Linked DNA regions of Homo sapiens: region 1 is linked to region 2. The links are contacts of gene promoters, found by promoter capture Hi-C in human tissues and cell types (Jung and others, 2019). All regions are on one chromosome and are shown on one strand. The core of a region is centred on a gene start or on the middle of the fragment in contact, and the rest is flanking DNA. Distances in the headings are between cores, read along the strand shown.

What was found. The method cuts DNA at HindIII sites, captures the fragments that hold promoters and counts their contacts. A contact is called where the count stands out against the background at its distance.
Region 1: the fragment with the promoter of ASB1 here is called in contact with a fragment that was not itself captured in region 2 in 1 of the 25 tissues and cell types used here (lymphoblastoid cells).

What each region holds. Positions count from the first base shown.
Region 1 is chr2:238,425,365-238,429,241 of GRCh38, reverse strand. ASB1 (ankyrin repeat and SOCS box containing 1) reads right to left here and starts at 2,315. Exons shown (of 5, transcript NM_001040445.3): 1 at 2,123-2,315. The coding sequence starts at 2,171. LOC124908002 (a long non-coding RNA gene) reads left to right here and starts at 2,348. Exons shown (of 2, transcript XR_007088163.1): 1 at 2,348-3,877. RefSeq lists enhancers at 1,567-1,686, 3,199-3,734 and silencers at 1,937-2,456, 2,477-2,866. The HindIII fragment of the contact is 10,702 bases long and covers 1-3,877 here.
Region 2 is chr2:237,695,810-237,699,642 of GRCh38, reverse strand. All of the region lies in intron 1 of LRRFIP1 (LRR binding FLII interacting protein 1), which reads right to left. Among named protein-coding and RNA genes, the nearest start is that of LRRFIP1, 70 kb to the right of the region's middle. RefSeq lists a silencer at 1,237-1,286 and an enhancer at 2,350-2,559. The HindIII fragment of the contact is 4,703 bases long and covers 34-3,833 here.

The DNA of each region.
Region 1 (3,877 bases), core at 1,066-3,565, 730 kb before region 2:
TATAAAGCACCCCCTCCATAAGGGGGCTCTTTCCAGATGCTGACATTGTTTTTTATATTAAAATTAATCTCTTTTCAGTACTACTGTACATGAGACTCAACCACAGGTGAAACGGGGGTGATGAGTAAGTGTCCCGGCTCTGCAGGGTTTGACAGTCCACTGAGTTGCTCATGCTGATCCCACAACCAGACTCGCCGCAGATCAACAAGCCGGCATGAACAGCTCTTTAAGCCACCACCCCAGTCTTCCTTCAGTAACTATCCTCCCCTGTAATTACTCCACAGTTGCGGTTACTACAGAGTGAAAAAGTTCAAAGTCGGAGTGGGAAAGATTCAGGTGTAGGGCAATAACCAACAGGTAAATGGCGGCCACAGGACTTTTGCTGAGCCCTCTTCTGGGCCCCCTCTGCTGGCCTCTGTGCTATCCATTCCTGGCCCTGCTCAAAGTAGACTCAGAATCTTTCCCCAGCTCCAGATTCAAAAGCAACTTCAAGTTTGTGTTTCGCTGATCAACTACTCCAATGACAACACAACTGCCCCAGGATAGCACTTAAGCTTCAACTGAAAATCTGTTGCCCCTCTACCCGAGGCCGAAACACACTGAATAACAAAACAGCAGTGCATGAGGATATAAAAAGGAGCCCTCAGCTGAGTGTGGTGGCTGCCGCCTGTAATCCCAGCACTTTGGGAGGCAGAGGCGGGCAGATCACCTGAGGTCTAGAGTTCGCTATCAGCCTGGCCAATATGCCAATATGGTGAAGCCCCGTCTCTACTAAAATACAAAAATTAGCCGGGCATGATGCCAGCACCTGTAATCCCAGCTACTAGGGAGGCTGAGGCCAGAGCATCGCTTGAACCCCCGAGGCGGAGGCTGCAGTGGGCCGAGATCACGCCACTGCACTCCACCCTGGGCAACAAGAGCGAAACTCCGTCTCAAAAAAAAAGGAGACCTGTGCAGCCGACAAAGCCAGTGTTTATTCCCCAGGAACTCTCTTTATACTGGGAAGTAGCTGTTGGTCCTCTTTTTCCCACGGAACACGCATCATTCCGTCTCTCACTCTCACATGAGATGACATCCTAGACCCTAAGGTCCTGGCTGTCTCTGAAGTCAAAGTCAACGCCAACCAAAGCCCAGGATGGTAGATGCTTTGTCTGGCTTTTTCTGGTCACTGCAGTATCCTCTGCTGGGTCTAGCCAACAGCAGGTCTTCAATACAAGTCTGTTAAATGATTGGAAGGAGGTGCAGAGGGAGGGATGGATGGAAAAGCCTATCTGCACCAGTCTCCAAGTCAATCTTTTAAGATGTTTAAGAAATGTATTGGTTTATTACTAAGTAGGAGAGGAACCCCTCCAAAGACAAATATAGGCATGTAAAGAAAGCCCAGAACACACGAAACTATTGGCGCGAATGGCAAGCTCAGAAATCCAGCAAGAAGGAACTCCCACCACACCACCGGGAAACGGGAACCTGTCCTGACCGCTTCCTTCACATCTGCATGGTAGGGACACTGCAAGGTGGAGACCCTAAGTAGGACAGTTATTTTGGAAGGTGGGTGTGAGCCTTTCTATCTGCCTCCCTTGCTGGTGGGCCAAAGGCCCCTGGACATGTTGTGTCACTGACGAGCTCGCTGGAGACGGCGTCCCCGTTGTCCCTGGTCTGTGCCTGTGGTGGGTGGGAAGGCTGCCCCCCGCTGTACCACCGGACACGCCGTGGGCGGCAGAATGGTGAAAAAGTGCCTGCCCTCCCTAGGGCTACCCTCTGGCTGGCTTTCCTGATCCGTGCGCTCAGAGCTGGAAGGTGGCCCACGTCCTACTTTTGCGGTTGGGTCATATCAAATCTGTATCGGCTAACGGGAAGGAAGTTACGAGCAAGTTCCACCGGAAAGAAAATCTAGCGCGGGGACTGCACTCGAGGCCGAGGAGAGGGCAGCGCGTCCGTGGTGGGGTCGCCCAGCACTGCGAGCCGCGCTGAACCCCACCCCCGGCCTGCAGGGTGCGGCTCCCTGGCTGCCCCGTGGACCCGGCCAGCCCGGGACGAGGACGCAGGACCTCGGCAGGGACGCCGGAGCCAGCCCTTCGCCATCCCCACACGCCCCGCGGCCCAGTGGCCGCGCGCACGTTACCTGCGGAGCCCGGCCCTGCCCGCCCGTCTGGGCTGCCGCCCTCCGCCATGGATGCTTCCGCCTCCGCGGCCGCCCCTGACCCGCGCACGCCCCTCGGGCAGGAAGCAGAACGACCCGCGACCACTTCCGGCGCCGAGGGCAATGGGGGGCGCGTCGGGGTCGCGGCTTCCGGCGGGCGCGCGCCGGCCTCACTGGTTTCCGGGGCCGCGCAGGGGCCACGCCTCCGCTTCCGGCCTCGCTGTCTAGCAGGGCGCTGGCTGGTCCCTTCGTCCGGCGGGAACTTCGCGGCTAACCGACTCTCTGGATGCCGGCCGCGCTGTGGTTTCCTCACATAAGAAGCCAAGGAGTCGGAAAGCCCGTTGCCTGAGGCAGCAGTCTGGGAATTTCGGTCCGGCGGGCCGTCCCCACCCACACGGACGGGGCGTGGCTTCTGCCAGATGTGGGCGGGGCCCCGAGGGCCGTGGCGGGCGGGACCCGGGCCTCGGCCGGGCTGGCTTGGTCCCCGCAGGTGCCCCCCGCTAGCCACGAGCAGCCCCGGGAGGGTGGATTCGGAGGCGCGGGGACTGGTGAGGGCCCACTGCAGGGCTGAGCGTCGCAGCGTGCTGTGGTTTTAGATGAATGCTCCTCCAAATCCCTTCCATGAAGCCCTCAATCAGGTCGGTAACTGATGACAGCCAGTGGCTGACGCGAAGTTCATTGAATAAATGAATGCATTCGTGAACAACCGAGTAACATTTCTTGCACACTCCCAACTTCAAATATCGCAGCGTCGTCCCACCATGAGTATTGGTGTTGGTCCTAAAGCACGGATTCCCTTGGCTCCTCCCATTCTCCCCTGCTGAGTTAGACAGCGGGGCCTCATGCAGGAGGAGGATTTGTACACAGCACAGCAGGAGGCTGATGAGGGAGTCCGGAGACCCCAGCAGTCGTGGGCGTGAGCTGCTGGCTCATCCGTGTGTACAACATTCCAGACTGGAGTAAGGGAAGCCGCAGGCGCAGCCCCGCGAGTGCCCCTGCTGAGGCTGGCCCTGGGTGGCCCAGATGCACCAGGGGGCCCACTGGGGGCAGACCTGGCAGGCCCTGTGGGGGTTGGAGGCGGGAGTGGGGGTACTTCCTACAGTGGTGTTTGGTCTTGATGACAGCAGAGAGCACCACTGGCATGAGGGACAGGTGACTCCGATGATGACGCTGCCAGGCCAGGAGCCAGGGGTGTGCCCAGCCCCTGGCTCCACCACAGCTGCACATCCCGAACTCGGAGCTTCAGCAACTCCGAAGCCTGAAGCCGCCTCACGTGTTGTTGGATGGATGAATGGATAAACGAAATGCCGTCCATCCATACAATGGAATCGTACTCAGCCTTAGAAAGGAAATGCTGTCCGTCCATACAATGGATTCGTACTCAGCCTTAGAAAGGAAGGGAATCCTGACACACGTCACAACACGGATGACCTTGAAGACGTTATGCTGAGTGAGATAAGCCAGCCACAAAAAGACAAATACAGTACTGTGTGATTCCAATTATTTGAGGTCCCTGGAGCAGTGAAATGGTGGAGCGGAATGGGGGTTGCCAAGGGCTGGGGGAGTGGGGAATGAGGAGTTAGTTTTTCATGGGGACAGAGCTTCAGTTGAGGAAGATGAAAAAGTTTTGGAGACGGGTCACACAGCAATGTGAATTGTGCATTAACAGTACTGAACTGCGCATTTAAAGCAGGTTAAGTTTTATGTTCTATATATTTTACCACAATTGTTTTAAAG
Region 2 (3,833 bases), core at 1,136-3,635:
CGGTGGCTCACGCCTGTAATCCCAGCACTTTGGGAGGCCGAGGCAGGCGGATCATCTGAGGTCAGGAGTTCAAGACCAGTCTGACCAACATAGTGAAATCCCATCTCTACTAAAAATACAAAATTAGCCGGGCATGGTGGCGCATGCCTATAATCCCAGCTACTCAGGAGGCTGAGGCAGGAGAATCACTTGAACCCGGGAGGCGGAGGTTGTAGTGAGCCGAGATCTCACCATTGCACTCCAGCCTGGGCGACAGAGCGAAATTCCATCTCAAAAAAAAAGAAAAAAAAAAAAAAGAAAAGAAAAACCACTATTTTTAATTTTTGGATTTACAAACTGATTGCAACTTACATATAAACTCAAAATATGTTTTACACAGTTCAAATATACATGAACTATTCCAGGAATGCAATCGACATGGAAATTGAAGGAAGATGATGATACTTGGCTTTGTTCAGAACTTTCCTGAGAGTTAGTCAACTTTGTAGAATGTCACGTCATAGACAGCAACATGAGGGGTGGTGTGTGGGTCTCAGTGCAACACACCTGTGTCAGCCTCCCTGTGACGCCAGGCACAGGTGTGTGCAGGTCTCATCACTGCATTCAACTGCTGGTGTACTTGGTCTTGAGTATTTCTATATCAAAATTCTTATTATGTTACTATAAACTACCTGTATTTTATTTTTTAAGGAAATGTTATATTGACTCGAAATTATGTGCGCTGGTTGACTTTCTCACCTATGCATTTCATTTCAGGCTAGTAAGGAAGTTAAGGAACTTGTAAAAAGACAGGGTTGAGAACCACAGCTTCAGAACTCCAGTGTGGATCTCTCGTCTCTCCATCACACTGTATGAACCAGCCCCGGCACAATTCAGAGCACAGGTCTGGGTGCCTGGTGCTCAGGCCATCATGAAGATTTGGATGGCATAAAGTTAGAGATCAAAGCCTAACTGATTACTTAAAACACTATGTTTCCATCAAAATTAACTCAGACAAATTATGGAGTAGACTGAAATTACCATGAAAGTTTACGGTAAGACGGCCACCTTCAAAGAAGGCTTTAGCTTACAAGGCTGCTCCTGGCCGGGCCCACAGGCCCCAGGAGCCAGCACACTGTCCTCTGCACTCGGGGGACCTGGCAGACAAGTCCAAGAAATGCTGGGTGCCGACTGCTTCTCTCAGCTATGGCTGCACTGTTCTCAGTAAAGGTCTGAGTTTATGCAGGTGCAGACTGTCAAGAAAGGAGTCTGAAGACCCAGCCACAGCCTCCAGCTTGGGCTCTGTCACCTACAGTTATGTGAGCCTGGATAAGTTACTCGGTTTTTGAACCCCAGCCCTCATTAAAGAAGTAGGAGGGGACGTAATCTTTAAGAGCTTCCTTCCCCTCTGAAATTCTTTGGGTTCATGCCAGAGGTGAATTATTTGTACACTGAGATTGTCCACAGACTGTGTCTGTTTTGCTACTGGAAATCTCCAGGCTTTGCTTTTCAGAATAATAAGCTTCTTTAAAGTCCTTCGCATCCTAAAATAGCAAACGTATTAATCGGGAACAAAATGATTGATGTTACTTTATTGATGACTCACACATTGACCTATTCAAACCTCACAACACAATCTTGGGCTTAGCAGCTACTCCCACTGGCGCTAAGAAATAAATACGCTATACAGTATCTTCCATGCAAGTGAACTTCTACTCTTGCTGTTAATACATTTCTTGCTTTTCCTGAGATGAATGAATCTTCATATTTCCTTCAATTGCCTCAACATGATGGAAATACAAGAACCATGACTACCACTAACAGAGACGTGCGGGACTGAGAGGCGAGGGCGGCTGGGCCTCCCCTGTGCCGTTTCCTCTCCAGGTGACAGGTTTCCCTCCAGGCAGCACGTCTGGGCTCCACTCCCTTCACCTTTGCCTGCTCTGCTCAAGACTGTCCTACAAACCCCAGACCTCTAGGGTTTCACAAAAACATTTAAATTGTTTCCTCTGAGAAGAAGGCTGAAAGCTCCACCAGCACCAGGGCAGCACACAGCAACTGACAATCTTTCCTATATTCAGTGGATATTCCCTGGAACCAGCTATAAAAGAAACAGCAGCTGTCATGTTTATCCTCCATGAACTTATCTACTTGGATGAGGTAGGGGAGGAGTTACATCATACCCAGAAAAATAAAAAGGCTTAAATCACAGCAGCTCTCAGGTGTATGCCGACATAAGCAGTAGTTAACATTTTAGCATGGTACAAAAATAGCAAAACAAGTTTCACAGCTATTTCATTTCTACCATTATTTTCCTTATGTAGAAAAGTAAAGCTCATTGGGCCGGGTGTGGTGGCTCATGCCTGTAATCCCAGCACTTTGGGAGGCCGAGATGGGAGGATCACTTGAGGTCAGGAGTTTGAGACCACCCCGGCCAATGTGGTGAAACCCCATCTCTACTAAAAATACAAAAATTAGCCGGGTGAGGTGGCAGGCACCTGTAGTCCCAGCTGCTTCAGAGGTCTGAGGCAGGAGAATCGGTTGCACCTGGGAAACGGAGGTTGCAGTGAGCTGAGATTGTGCCATTGCATTCCAGCCTGGGCAATCAAGCACGACTGTCTCAATAAAAAAAAAGAAGGAAAGTAAGTTCGTTCTTTGAATGTTCTCTTCTGTCTGGAAATTACCAGGCAGAGAACAGAAAAGTTTGACAGAGTGAAGACTTCCCAGTATGCATTCAAGACAAGGACTTCTGTCCTAAGAGGCAGCTTTGGTAAAAAGAAATCCTTCAGCCCCAATACTGGGGTATGAGACAGCAGGGCTGCCAAGAAAAGCTGACAACAGCGACAAAAGCAGCAGCAGCAGCCGTGGCAGCCACAGCTATATCTTGCACATTTACTACCTGCCAGCCCCTGCCTGCAGCATTGCATACAGTGGTGACAGTTATCAGTACCAGTTCCGAGTCAGCAGGCCTGGGTCTGAACTGGCTCCACTGCTGACTAGCTGTGAGGGCTTGGAAAGTCCCTGACCTTTCTGAGCCTCAGTTTCCTCTTTATCTGAAAAACTGAGAGAAAACGATCTGCTCCCCATGAGGTTACAGCAAGGGTTAGAGAAGACCTTCACATAAAACACCAGGTGGGCGCAGCAGGGGTTTGGTAAATATTAGCTACTTTCACTACTTAGTGTCTTCTTTGACAGCTACTGACCTAAGAGTATAAATCCGGTTCAGAGAAGTTTAGAAGCACGATGAGAAGACAAGCATGCTAAGGCACCCACCTAGCAGAGAAGCAGGAAAAACTGGGGAAACTTCAGAGGAGGGGGACAGAGGTTCTCAACCCACAGGGAAAGCCCACTCCTTTCCCTAGGAAAATCACACAGCCACGTGCCACATACAGTAAAAAAGACAGAAGGATCACAGGTGGCGTTGCTTTGATCATCTTCATTACACAAATAAATGAAACATTTTGGTTAAAATTAAGAGTAAATCTTCATTATAGTGATTTAAGATAAATTACTTCTCTACTACAAAGTAGTTATACTTTAGATTCAAGGGAAAACTACTTACCTAGTTTTAAAGTTGTAAAGTTACAATCCCAAGGAGAAACCACTGGAAACACTGGCCCTTTCCAAAATGAATGAATGAGTCTCGGAATACATATAATTTCTGTTGCCAGGTGTGTGTGTGTTTTGGTTTATTGTTTTGGAATCTGGCCTGGGGCAGGGGGATTATACTACTGGTCTATAATCAAATACATGGCAATTTTGAATGATTAAATCTTGCATGTAGTCAAAATATTTAATTTGGGAGAAAGAAACGAATTTACTTAATTTTATCTAGGTAGTCTGAATAATAAAAG